Regions from separate parts of the Homo sapiens genome. Here region 2 is linked to region 1. The links are contacts of gene promoters, found by promoter capture Hi-C in blood cells and fetal thymus (Javierre and others, 2016). All regions are on one chromosome and are shown on one strand. Each heading gives the region's core, a stretch centred on a gene start or on the middle of the fragment in contact. The rest is flanking DNA. Distances are from core to core; before and after follow the strand shown. Region 1 holds the start of ARFGAP2 (ARF GTPase activating protein 2). Region 2 has its middle 6.2 kb from the start of RAPSN.

The links. Contacts are between HindIII fragments. The CHiCAGO score rates a contact against its expected background, and 5 or more counts as called.
Region 2: a contact is called between a fragment that was not itself captured here and the fragment with the promoter of ARFGAP2 in region 1, in 1 of 17 cell types (naive B cells). The highest score is 5.8, in naive B cells.

What each region holds. Positions count from the first base shown.
Region 1 is chr11:47,171,361-47,178,306 of GRCh38, forward strand. It overlaps ARFGAP2 (ARF GTPase activating protein 2), which reads right to left and starts at 5,519. Exons shown (of 16, transcript NM_032389.6): 1 at 5,422-5,519; 2 at 5,156-5,274; 3 at 4,491-4,563; 4 at 3,822-3,953; 5 at 3,655-3,738; 6 at 2,399-2,480; 7 at 2,066-2,122; 8 at 921-973; 9 at 304-440; 10 at 66-197. The coding sequence starts at 5,493. It overlaps PACSIN3 (protein kinase C and casein kinase substrate in neurons 3), which reads right to left. Exons shown (of 11, transcript NM_016223.5): 11 at 6,162-6,686. The coding sequence ends at 6,571. RefSeq lists enhancers at 5,267-5,496, 6,038-6,619, 6,467-6,516, 6,597-6,646 and a silencer at 5,547-5,976. The HindIII fragment of the contact is 14,588 bases long and covers 1-6,946 here.
Region 2 is chr11:47,452,078-47,458,518 of GRCh38, forward strand. No RefSeq gene overlaps it. Among named protein-coding and RNA genes, the nearest start is that of RAPSN, 6.2 kb to the left of the region's middle. RefSeq lists an enhancer at 3,336-3,835. The HindIII fragment of the contact is 3,355 bases long and covers 1-3,216 here.

The DNA of each region.
Region 1 (6,946 bases), core at 4,269-6,768:
AAGGCCCCGCAATGGTTCCCAGAAAACAACGGCATTTCCCTGCCACACCCGGAGCTGAGCCTCACCTTCGGGATACCAAGCCCATGCCCAACCTTTCTGCCTGCTCTCGCTTCTTCCCTTCCAGATTCTGTAGCTTCTTTTCCTCTTTCTTACGATCAATCTGGAGCTCCTGGTAGGCCAGACGCATGGAGGCGACCCTTAGGGGGAACAAAGGTGTCAGTGGCCACCACCCATCCTGACCTGTCCAACATACCCACCCACCAAGCCCCGCAGAAGCCTGAGGCCCCGGCAGCAAACACTTACATGGACTCCTCCGCCTGCTTCTTGGCATCGGCTGCCTGCTGCTCACGGAGCTTCTCTGCCACCTGAGCCTGCCGCTCAATCTCACTGAAGCTCTGGCTGCTCACCTTCTGGGCCCCTAGGCCTTTCTTGGCACCCAGCTGGGAACAGAATCATGTAAGGGGCCTTCCCAATCACACTCTCCTCAGATCCCTCCCAGGTTCAGGCACTGTAGCCACACCCACAAGGAAAAGGCCCTTCTTAAAATTTAGGGTAAAAAACAGGAGCCCAACCAGCATGGCCAAGACAATAGTGCTCCGCTGGAGCTGGGCATGGGCGGCTCACACAGCCCCAGCAGAGCCCGGGCCTGAGGACGGCAGTTAATGCTGACAGGGCCAAGTATGTGCCAAGCACTCCGCCAAGCACTAGATGTGCTCCATCTCACCGACTCCTCCCAGCAGCCCTTGAAGACAGGCTTTAAATCCCTTTAAATCTTTAAATCCCTTTCACAGGCGAGGTTCGGAGAAACACAGTACCTTTGCCAAAGTCATATAGCTGGTAAGTGGTAAGGTCAAGGAGTGAACCCAGGTAGCCTGCACCCAGCTCCTAACCCCTCTACCATACCACCTCTCCCCACCTACCCCTTTCTTAGCTGCTGCTGGCTTCTTCTTGCCAATGATGGAGCTTTTCAGTTCTGCGTGAGAAACGGGTAGGCATGAGCTAAGACAAAGGCAGCTCAGAGGCAGTAGCTCAGTATACACCATGCAGCTTCATGGCAAGAGCTCCTAAGAACAGCTTCAGGCAAGGGAAGGCAAAGCTGCCACCACCAGCTCCAACCAGCGGTGTCAAAGCCAAAGACAGACGTGGCTGGGGTATTTACTGGCACCCAGCAGAGTGAGACAGGAACCTAGACCTGAAGCACCAGAGACGTCCGAAGCACCAGAGACGTCCAAATTCCCTGAACCAAAACAAAGACTGCGAGGCAGGGAGCATATGGTGAGCACCAGGCTCCGCTTCTAAAGCAGGAAGCTGAGAACAGGGGCTGGGCTCCCCAAGCAGCTGTCAGTTACCTCTGGCAGGAAGGGCCCCTTTAGCTGACAGATACACGGACTCTGGAGGAGAAACAGACTTGTGGCTAACAAGAGGCCCACCCCAGAGCCTCCACAGAGCTCCCAAGCCCAGCGGTCTCTATGAAGCCCTGCTTCAGACCAAGCTATGCCAGCCTTCTCATGGATCAGTCTGACAGTCACTCTGCTGGGTTCCAGCCCCAACCCCCAAGAGTCAACAGAACAAACCGAGGTCAGCAAATGGACTGTTCGCCCTGAACCAAGTCTGAAAGACACTAAGGAAAATGTAGGAAAGAGTTAAAGGACAGGCTGGGGTACTGGCTGAGAAAGAACAATGTCACCTCCAGCCTTCGGCAGCTCAGAGCTGTCCCTCCACCCCCGGAAATGCACCAGACAAGCCAGCCCTGCCTCAGAGCCCAGGGATAGGTGTCCAGTCTCATGCTGGCCTCCCCAACACTTTGGCTAGACCCAGCCCCACACTCAGAGGCAGACCCCAGGCCTTATACACCAGCCCACCCAGATTCATCAATTCAAAGGGCTTGGCTCTAAAATCAGTGTTGCATCCACTATTTCAATCACAGTCCCCACTCCAGAGAATCAGATAGATGCTCAGTCTCCTGTGGCCTCTGTCCACACGGCCAGGCAGTAGGACCTCTGAAAAGAACATTTGAGGTCCACCCTCTCCCAGACACCCCACGCCTGCCCGCTGGCATACTGACCCAGTGAGGCTTTGGGTGAGGTGCCAAGCAGGTCTGTGTTGGGGCCATGCTCCGGCTCTGTGGATGCAATGGTAGGAGTTAGAGATGAGCTCCTAGCTTCCTGCAACCTCCCCTTGAAAGAAGTGATGGGACAAGAATCGGTGGCTTTCCTCAGCTTGCCACCAAAAGATAAAAGGAATATCTACCACTTCCTCCAAGGATTAAAATGAATCCCGGCCCACCCAAAGATACAGGAGGACCCCTGCTCCTATTGTCATGGCCAGATGTCCCCTTCCAAACCCTGAGTCCTCTCCTAGGACCAGGGCACCTGGTTGGAATCTGGGCTGAACTCACGTGCCAGGCCACTGCTCTCTGTAGACGGGGCTGGCTGCTGGGTCCCTGAAGGCTCAGTGGCTGGCGCATCCCAGGCAGGGGGCTGAAAAGGAGGCCAGATCACAGATGCCTCGGTGAGCCACTCCTGCTGGCAAGAAGCACCAAGACCTACAAGCACCTTGTGGACAAGAAATCATACTCCAAACCCATGAGGAAAGGGACTGGAGGGTAGCAAACAAGATCACAGTTGCTATTCACTGTGGAAGAAAGCAGGAAGACAAGCAGCCCCCACCCCAACCCCTTCACTATTTACTTAGAGCCAGAGCCCATTCTCCTAACTTAAAGACAGTTAACTACCACCACCTAGGCAGGCACAGATCTAAAGGCTCCTCATATATGAATATATTTAATTATCACTACAACCCCTATGAAGGAGCTACATCGCCATTTTAGAAACTGAGGTTTTGACAGGTTGAGTGACTTGGCCACCATCACAGGAATGCGGAGTAGAGAACAGGAATTGAAGCCAAGAGTCTAACTTCAGCACCCAGGGCCAGTAAAGAGGAAACCCTCCTCAAAGGGGTGGGGCGGGGAGGAGAGAATCCTTTCACTGTCCCCAAGCACAGTGCCTTTTTTTTTTTTTTTTTTTTTTTTTTTTTTTTTTTTTTTGAGACGGAGTCTCGCTCTGTCGCCCAGGCCGGACTGCGGACTGCAGTGGCGCAATCTCGGCTCACTGCAAGCTCCGCTTCCCGGGTTCACGCCATTCTCCTGCCTCAGCCTCCCAAGTAGCTGGGACTACAGGCGCCCGCCACCGCGCCCGGCTAATTTTTTGTATTTTTAGTAGAGACGGGGTTTCACCTTGTTAGCCAGGATGGTCTCGATCTCCTGACCTCATGATCCACCCGCCTCGGCCTCCCAAAGTGCTGGGATTACAGGCGTGAGCCACTGCGCCCGGCCCACAGTGCCTTTCTTATAGGGGAAGAATCCAGGAAAATTTGTTTGGGGCACCGGACACCTCTTGAAACTTCAAGAAGCTGCCTCTCTTCCCCGCCAGCCCAATTTATAGGAGTCGATTTCTAAGGAGGGCTACACTGCACCTCCATTTATGGAGGAGGAAACACCTAGGCCTACCCAGCAGGAACAGTGGACTTCATACGTGGTGTCCAAGACATCACATCAAAGCAAATGGAATCTACAACCATGATCACAGAAGGCCTGGGCCTTGGTAAATTGCCTGTCAAGAACAACTGGGAAAACGGTTCCTTGTGGGCACTCACTTGAGTGTGTTCTGTGAAGAAATCAGAGTCCTTCTTCTCTGGGGAGTGATTAGGAACGGCACTACTCATGTTGTCTATCCAAAGCTAGAAAGGAGAAGACACCCCTAAAACACAGGGCTCTGAATACTCCTAACCCTCCTGCCCCAGCCCCAAGAACAGGCACTTACATCAGTGCCATGCCTAGCCAGGGCCGCACTCCCCAGCTGCCGGATCTTCTCCCGGTACATCTGGGCAGCTCGGCTATTATATTTGGTGTTGGCATCATTGGCTGTGCATCCATGTTGGCGAAAAAAAGCCGTCTGGAGAGCAAAGAAGAGAGCAGCGCGTGCTACGGGTGATTCTCAAGAAGGAAACGTGTTGGCTGTAGGAGACATCTCCTTATGACAGCGAAGTTATTATCTATACAGGATGATACACGCTACTGACACCGGTTTTTCAGAGATAAAGTTTCTCGAAATTCCTGCAAAAAACACCTTGCAGCGGGCCATCCTCTGATATGACTGAAGTCCAGGCCCCACTGAACGCTGCCTGAGCACAACATCCCATACCCAGCCTCCCCATCCTTCATCCAGGGCAGGCCCACAAGACCCAATGACTGTGAAGGCTCCCAACTCCTGTGGCTTTTCCCCAAGAACACCTGCCCAGTTTAATTGGAATCTGAAACCCATTTAAGAGAAGCTGTGACCAGTTTCGAAGTTTTCAGAAAATAGCTTATGGTGGTGTTATAGAACAGAGAACCCTCTGAACAGGGAAAACGACAGGGCCTCTTAGGGAGTCGTGCAAAGTTAGTAACCAGGCAGAAGAATGGAAGGTGAGGGAAGTAGAAGGAGCTTTACCGCATTGGCATTCCCGCCGACCTGCATACACCTCAGCTGGAACCAGTTCCAGTTGGAATCCAACTCTGTGGACCTGTGTACAAGGGCTGCGTCTCACCCACTAGCAGATACCAGCAGGATTTCCCTGGCAACCCGGATACCTGTCACTTGGCCTCAGGCTGCTGTAGGCACCCAGGAAACATTAATCAGCCATCACCCCATTTCCTCCACACTACCCTGTCCATGAAAACTCTCCTCTTCGTTCATTTACTCCAAAGAGTACTAATTATGTCCCCAGATCCGAAAGGAGGTCACATTCTCAGGCACGCACGCCTGGATTTGGCTTTCCCCTAATGGATGGTCACAGTCTCACTAGAGACATACTGGTCTAACAACATATCAGCAACAACAAGGTCAATGCCTCCCTTTCCCCTCAACTAACGCTCAGAGTCTCAAGCCTGACCGTCAAAAAAGAGGAAGTTTTGGCCCAGAGGCGGAGACGGACCGCCCATGTGCCAAAGGGCCCACACAGGTGGTTCCCTCTGGCAGGAGGCTACCGGACCCTCTCGGCCCAGAGGCTTCCCACCGAATTCAGAGCGGCCCAAGTCGAGGCAGCCACTCTCCCTTGTTGCCCAGACACCCCTGGCCGGCCGGGTGGAAACACGGCAACCGCGCGGAGAGCCTACCTGATGAAGCTCAGATGGACGCCCAGGGAGCGGTGCACCCCGGAACAGTCAATGCACAAGAAAACACCGTACGTGATGCTGGCCCAACTCGGATTCTTGGCGCCGCAGTCGAAACAGGCCTGGGTGGAGGCGGCGATGAGCGAATCGTCAGGGGCCCCGAGTAAAGGCCAGGCACCGACACCCCAGAAACATAACCCACCTCCGCCCTTCTCCCTCCCTCAGGCCCCAGCGGGACGAGAGACTCCGCGCGCCCCCTGCTCACGCACCTTGTTGGTTGGAACTGCGCGAAGCCTCTTAAAAAGAGTCTGGATTTCGGTCTTGTTCGGCTCCGCCGCCATTTTCTCTCCTTCCCAGACACAACCGCGGCTGACGGGTCCCGCCGCGGGCCAATCCACGGCGGGGAGGGCGGGCTCACCAGGCCGGCCTCAGCGGTGCCTGGGCCAGCCGAGGGGTGGGGTGATTGGAGTCCGATCTGGACCAATGGGCAGCCGGCGGGACGGGGGCGGCGACGACAACCGCGGCCGCAAGAATCAACGCCGCGCCGGGCCAATCCGCAGCCGGGGCGGGGCGACGGCGCGCGGACCGGCCCAAACCTCCTCGCGCGCGTAGTACCCTTCCCCCCGCCCCTCCCACGCCGCAACCCCCAGGTGGAGTCGCCCCCACGCCGCGCAGGCTGCGGGAGGCTGGGGGCGGGGACCCCCACTCCAGCTAATTACAGATCGATGAATAAGGATTAGGCTGCCCAAACACTCCTCGTCCCTCCGGCCCGAACGGGCAGACGCATTGGCCCGCGTCTCGCCCAGCCTTCAGCCGTTCTCGGTTAACAGCAAGCCTGACAGCGAGTCCCCTCCACTCCAGATTAGTATCTCGAAGTTCCAGAGCAGGTACCAAGCAGGCAAACCCTTTTCCAACCCCGGCCCCATAACAGACGCTAGGCCTCTCTCTAGATGCCCTCTGGTGGCCTGGCAAGGGTGTCCTATCAAAAAAATGCACATGAGCCCGACAGTGGTGTTTTTGTTTTTGTGTGTGGGTGTGTGTCAAGTTTTAATACACGCTAGAACAAGCCACAAGAGGGTGCTGCTAGGCCAGAACTACACTCACCCCAAGCCCACCCCAGGAACCCCAAAGCAGAGGTCAGGAACTGAGTCCACAGCTCCTGGGGAGGCCCAGGCACCCCTGAACGCTTCTGTCACCTCTGACCTCCCATCTTGCCCTCAGCCTAGACTCGTCCCTTCCCTACCAGTCCCTTCCCTAGACAAAGGCCCCTCCCCTCCCTGGGTCCCAGGACTTCCTCCCTCAAGGGACAGAGGAGCAGCCAGAGAGCGACGGTTCAGGGCCCTGAGGGTCCGGCTCTCCAGGAGAAGCTGGGCTCTGAACCAGGGTGGGTAAACGTTGCAGAAGGGCTGTCAGGACACTCAGGCGCCCACACACTCCACGTAGTTGGCAGGGTACAGGCCAATGCGGCCACTCTGCAACTGGCCTTGGCACCAGCCCTGCTCGTCCTCCTCACTCATCTTCAGCAGCTCCTCCCCTGGGGGAAAGGGGATTGGTCACTGCCAGTGGCCCTGGCCCAGGCCCTGTTCCTGCAACTGGGTCAAGGACTGAGGGGGATGGTGTGGTCCCAGAGCCCAGCTAGCAAAGACATGGCTCAGGCAGAGGCAGGTCAAGGTCAGCAAGCTGCCCCACCCCAGACCCTGAATGCAGCCACCAGGCACCAGCTATCTGGACCTGGAACAGCTGAAGGGACAGAGGACTGGCCCTTAAGAAGTGGGTATTTGGCTTCCCTTTCTG
Region 2 (6,441 bases), core at 289-2,788, 280 kb after region 1:
GGAGCAGAAGTGTGAGTAATATGGCAACTGTTACATTCTGGTACCTGCCTACCTGTCTGCCCCAGGGCCTTTGCACCTCCTAATTCCTTCTCTGTTCACCACACCCACACTCTGCCTCGTAAGTCATAATTAGGATGAATCAGCATATTATCCTCTCATTGAATTACACTGCATTCTGATACAGGACTTATCTCTATAATTTTATTTTGAGACAGGGTCTCACTTTGTCGCCCAGGCTGGAGTGCAGTGGTACAATCTAGGCTCACTGAGGCCTCGACCTCCTGGGCTCAAGCCACCCTCCCACCTCAACCCTCGCAAGTAGCTGGCATTACAGGCAATGCCACCATGCCCAGCTAATTTTTATATTTTTAGTAGAGACGGGGTTTCACCATGTTGGCCAGGCTGGTTTTGAACTCCTGTGCTCAAGTGATCCGCTGGCCTGGGCATCCCAAAGTGCTGGGATTACAGGCGTGAGCCACCACGCCCAGCCTCTCTATAATTTTATATTAGTGAGGTTGTTTGCTGAATGTCTTTATTCTTCACTCAAATGAGGTCATATGGCTGGGCCCTAACCCAGGGCAGGACTTTGTCTCCTTCATTACTGACTGTATTCCCAGAGCAAGGCCCGGCACACTGTGGCCCCTCAATAAATGTCAAATATCGGTGAATGGGGAAGAAGCGGAGGAAAGACGGCTTCACCGGGAAATTCAGAGCAACTACACGGCCTGCTTCCTGAGAGCCCAACGGGTCAGAGGGGACGCTCTGGGGGTCAGAAGGCAAATGCCCCAGGCTCAACAGAGGCAGAGTGGGAGCAGGCTCTGGGACAGGTGGCTGGGCAAGGCCACCTGGACTCCCCAAAGGAGTGCTCCTAAGCCTGGGAAAGGGAGGGAGAGCTGGCTGGGGTCTTCTCTCATCTCAGGGAGGCCTGGGTTGATGCTGAGCTGCAGATGGGAGGGAAGCTGGGCCCACAGCGAAGGTGTGAAGGGCCAGCAGATTCTCCCCACTCCAAGGCCCAGACACTATTCACATTGAGTCTCTGGCAGGAAGGAATGGAGGAAGGGCGGCCTGCATCTACACCCCAACAGAGTTGGGGACCACAGCCTTCCTCTTTCCTGGGGAACTCAAATGACCTCAAAACTTGAAAACTTGATGGGATCAAGCTGTCCTTTCCCTGAGACAGGTCTTTGCTCATCTGACTTCAGTGATGGGAATATGCCCATACTCGCTTATTCTAGGTAGCAGAGTACCTTATGTTTCCTTGAAACATTTCATTTCTTCTTTATTATTATTTTTTTTTTTGAGATGGAGTTTTTCACTCTTGTCGCCCAGGCTGGAGTGCCCGTGGTGGTGAGAGGTGAAGCCAGCTGGACTTCCTGGGTGGAGTGGTGACTAGGAGAACTTTTCTGTAGCTAACTAGAGGTTTGTAAAATGCACCAATCAGTGCTCTGTAAAAACACACCAATCGGTGCTCCGTAGCTAGCTGGAGATTTGTAAAATGGACCAATCAGCACCCTGTAAAATGGACCAATCAGTGCTCTGTAAAATGGGCCAATCAGCAGGACATGGGTGGAGACAAATAAAGGAATAAAAGCTGCCTCCCCGACCAGCCCATCCCCACCCCAACAAGCCAGCAGCAGAAACCCGCTTAGGTTCCGTTCCACGCTGTGGGAGCTTTGTTCTTTTGCTCTCCACAATAAATCTTGCTGTTGCTCACTCTTTGGGTCTGCACCACCTTTAATAGCTGTAACACTCACCACAGAGGTTTACGGCTTCATTCTTGAAGTCAGCGGGACCACGAACCCACTAGAAGGAACCAACTGCGGACACAGTGGGATCTCGGCTCACTGCAACCTCTGCCTCCTGGGTTCAAGCAATTCTCCTGCCTCAGCCTCCCAAGAAGCTGGAATTACAGGCGAGCACCACTACACCTGGCTAAGTTTTGCAGTTTTAGTAGAGACGGGGTTCCACCATGTTGGCCAGGCTGGTCTCGAACTTTTGGCCTTAAGTGATCTGCCCGCCTCAGCCTCCCGTGAGCCACCATGCCCGGCCTCAAAAATTTCATTTCTGAGCACGTTTTCCAGAAATCAGCGACTGTAGTTAGGTTAAGGGCATGCTCCTCTATGGCAACGACTGTGGTTTACTTGTCTTTGTACTACTAGTAACTAACGGCACGGCCCCTGGCAAGGTAAGAGGAGACCAACAGAGAATCCTATTTAACATTCTAACATTTTCTGAGTTAAGCATTTCTTCCAGTTTACAAATGAGGAAACAGGCATGGAGAGGTAAGGTGACCTGCCCAAGACTACACTGCCATCTGCTGGTCCTAGACAGCTGGGACCAGAAGCAGTGTGGTTGTAGAGTCTCGTTCTTTTTTTTTTTTTTTTTGAGATGGAATCTAGCTCTGTTGCCGAGGCTGGAGTGCAGTGGCGCAATCCTGGCTCACTGCAACCTCCACCTCCCGGGTTCAAGCGATTCTCATGCCTCAGCCTCCTGAGTAGCTGGAATTATAGGTACGTGCCACCACTCTTGGCTTTTTTTTTTTTTTGTATTTTTAGTAGAGACGGGCTTTCATCATGTTGTCCAGGCTGGTCTCGAACTCCTGACCTCAGGTGATATGCCTGCCTCGGCTTCCCAAAGTGCTGGGATTACAGGTGTGAGCCAACACACCTGGCCAGGACTCCCATTCTTAACCATTATACTGTACTAGAAAGGAGGCGAGGACAAGGGAGATGGAGAAAGTGGAGAACAGAACAATAGTTTTCCGGAATTCATTGCGATCTTTACCTGAAGCACAGCAAAGTCACTGGGAACTTATCCAAAGCTGTAGCCTGGGTGGGCAGAAGGCATGTATTAAGGAGAGGGTAAAGAGTTAAGACTTGCTTACCAGTGCCCAGTAGATGAAAAGCCCTGGAAGGTGTTAGGGAACAGCCACAAAATGAAATGGTCTTTTCAGTGCCACTTAACCTCACAAGGTGGTGATACAGTCGGGGGATTCAGGGCTATCACCAGAGTGCCTGCTGGGCCAGGTACCAGCTGCACACCTCACATTTTAGATCCCTGTTTTATAATCAAAAGTAGAAAATTAAGTTTGGGCCTGAAGCAAGAGTCACAATCTGGCATGTGAGGACTAAATATTTCTGAGTTGGTTGGCAACATGTGTTATCTAGGAGATTTTACATAAAAATGTACATTTCCTTGCTTCTCTTGAAGAGTGGAAGCTTGGCCTGGTGCAGGGGCTCACTCCTGTAGTCCCAGCACTTTGGGAAGCTGAGGCGGGCAGATCACCTGAGCTCAAGAGTTCGAGACCAGCCTGGCCAATATGATGAAACTTTGTCTCCATGGAAAATACAAAAAATTAGCCAGGCATGGTGGCATGCACCTGTAGTCCCAGCTACTCAGGAGGCAGAGGCACGAGAATTGCTTGAACCTGGGAGGTGGAGGTGGCAGTGAGCCGAGATTGTGCCATTGCACTCCAGCCTGGGTGACAAGAGGAAAACTCTGTCTCAAAAAAAAAAAAAAAAAAAAAAAAAGTGGAAACTCACGCATGCTCAGACCTTGACTGCCTACCAACCACTCCAGTGGTCGGGGTCTGGCCCCAAGAGACCATGAATGTCTTACCAATTCATTCATTGGAACCATGCACCCCTGACTCCCTGTTCTCGCCTTGACACTGAAGCCAAATGCCACTTGTCTTATGCTGGCCTCCTTTCACATGAGTACATCACAGTTGCAGCCCCTGCTCCAGATGCATGACGAAATGTAACTGAAGGGGACAGTCCCAAGGTCCCTCTACCACGACTATCGGGATTCTTGGGAAGTCTCCCCATCTTACCAAGTTAGTTTCCCCAATTAAAAAGATATTGGCCGGGCGTGGTGGCTCACGCCTGTAATCCCAGCACTTTAAGAGGCTGAGGCAGGCGGATCACAAGGTCAAGAGATTGAGACCATCCTGCCCAACATGGTGACACCCTGTCTCTACTAAAAATACAAAAATTAGCTGGCGTGGTGGTGCGTGCCTGTAGTCCCAGCTACGTGGGAGGCTGAAGGAGGAGAATCGCTTGAACCCGGGAGGCGGAGGTTGCAGTGAGTAGAGATTGCACCACTACGCTCCAGCCTGGCGATAGAGCGAGACTCTGTTCCAAAAAAAAAAAAAAAAGATATCACCTCTCTGGCAAGTTTTCTGTGAAAATCAAATGAGATGATAAGATAACTTGCTTTGAAAAGAAGCCATTGAACTAACATCCCTCTATTGGCTTATTATTTACGGTAGTGAAAAACTAGAAAGAATCTGTGTCTGATAGAAGGGTGTTCATAACCATGAAGTGCTATGTAGACTCTAAATAAGGAAGCAGTAGATACCTGTGTACCCAGATGGAAGGGAGCCCAGGGCATAGTAACTTAAAAAAGCAAGCTGCAGACTGGGCGTGGTGGCTCACGGCTGTAATCCCAGCATTTTGGGAGGCCGAGGCAGGTGGATCACCTGAGGTCAGGAGTTCAAGACCAACCCGACCAACATGGTGAAACCTGGTCTCTAATAAATACAAAAAATTAGCTGGGCATGGTGGCGGGCACCTGTTAATTCCAGCTACTCAGGAGGCTGAGGCAGGAGAATCGCTTGAACCCGGGAGGCAGAGGTTGCGGTGAGCCGAGATCGTGCCACTGCACTCCAGCCTGGCTAACAAGAGTGAGACTCCTTCTAAAAAAAAAAAAAAAAAAAAAACAAGCTGCAAAACATTCTGTATATTACGGTGTGATTTTTATTTTATTATTATTATTATTCTTGAGACGGAGTCTCACTCTGTCACCCAGGCTGAAGTGCAGTGGCGCGATCTCAGCTCACTGCAAGCTTCGCCTCCCGGGTTCAAGCTAGTCTCCCGCCTCAGGCTCCTGAGTAGCTGGGACTACAGGTGCCTGCCAACACACCCGGCTAATATTTTGTATTTTTAGTAGAGACAGGGTTTCACTGTGTTAGCCAGGATGGTCTGGATCTCCTGACCTCGTGATCTACCCGCCTTGGCCTCCTAAAGTACTGGGATTATAGGCATGAACTACCGCACCTGGCCTTTTTTTTCTGAGATGGTTTCGCTCTTGTTGCCCAGGCTGGAGTGCAATGGCGCGATCTCGGCTCATTGCAACCTCCGCCTCCTGGGTTCAAGTGATTCTTCTGCCTCGGCCTCCGAGTAGCTGGGATTACAGGCATGCACCATCATGCCTGGCTAGTTTTGTATTTTTAGTAGAGACGGGGTTTCACTGTGTTAGCCAGGATGGTCTCGATCTCCTGACCTCGTGATCTGCCCGCCTTGGCCTCCCAAAGTGCTGGGATTACAGGCGTGAGCCACTGCACCCAGCCATTTTTTTTTTTTTTTTTTGAAACAGGGTCTCGCTCTGTTACCCAGGCTGGAGTACAGTGGTGCGATCATGGCTCACTGCAGCCTCAACCTCTTGGGCTCAAGCAATCCTCCCGCTTCAGCCTCCCAAGTGGCTTGGACTACAGGTGTGTGCCATCACACCTGGCTAATTTTTTAAATTTTTTGTAGAGACAGGTCTGTGTTGCCCAGGCTGGTCTCAAACTCCTGGGCTCAAGTAATCCTCCTGCTTCAGCCTCCCAAAGTGCTGGGATTATAGGCATAATCCGAGCTACCATACTCAGCATGATCTCAACATGATCTCATTTTTATTAACAAAAATTACTTATTTTTTGTGTTTATAAGGAAAAATCCGGCCAGGTGCGGTGGCTCACGCCTGTAATCCCTGCACTTTGGGAGGCCGAGGCTGGCGGATCACGAGGTCAGGAGATCCAGACCATCCTGGCTAACATGGTGAAACCCCGTCTCCACTAAAAATGCAAAAAATTAGCTGGGCGTGGTGGCGGGTGCCTGTAGTCCCAGCTACTCGGGAGGCTGAGGCAGGAGAATGGCATGCACCCAAGAGGTGGAGCTTGCAGTGAGCCGAGTTTGCGCCACTGCACTCCAGCCTGGGTGACAGAGCGAGACTGCGAGACTCCGTCTCAAAAAAAAAAAAAAAAAAAAAAGAAAGAAAAAAGCAAAATCCTGGAAGCATATGACCCCATCTGTTATCAATGGGCTGTGGGATGGGGCATTCGCTCACTTTTAACCATGACTTACTGTTGTTACTAGCGACTTTAATGAGTGCTTGCCAGGGGCAGTAGCTTGGCTATTTGTTTGTGCATTTATTCTTTTTTGAGACGGAGTCTTGCTCTGTCGCCCAGGCTGGAGTGCAGTGACGGCATCTCGGTTCACTGCAAGCTCCGCCTCCCAGGTTCACGCCATTCTCCTGCCTCAGCCTCCTGAGAACCTGGGACTACAGGCACCCGCCACCACTCCCGGCTAATTTTTTTTTTTGTATTTTTAGTAGAGACGGGGTTTCACCTTGTTAGCCAGGATGGTCTTGATCTCCTGACCTCGTGATCCGCCCGCCTCG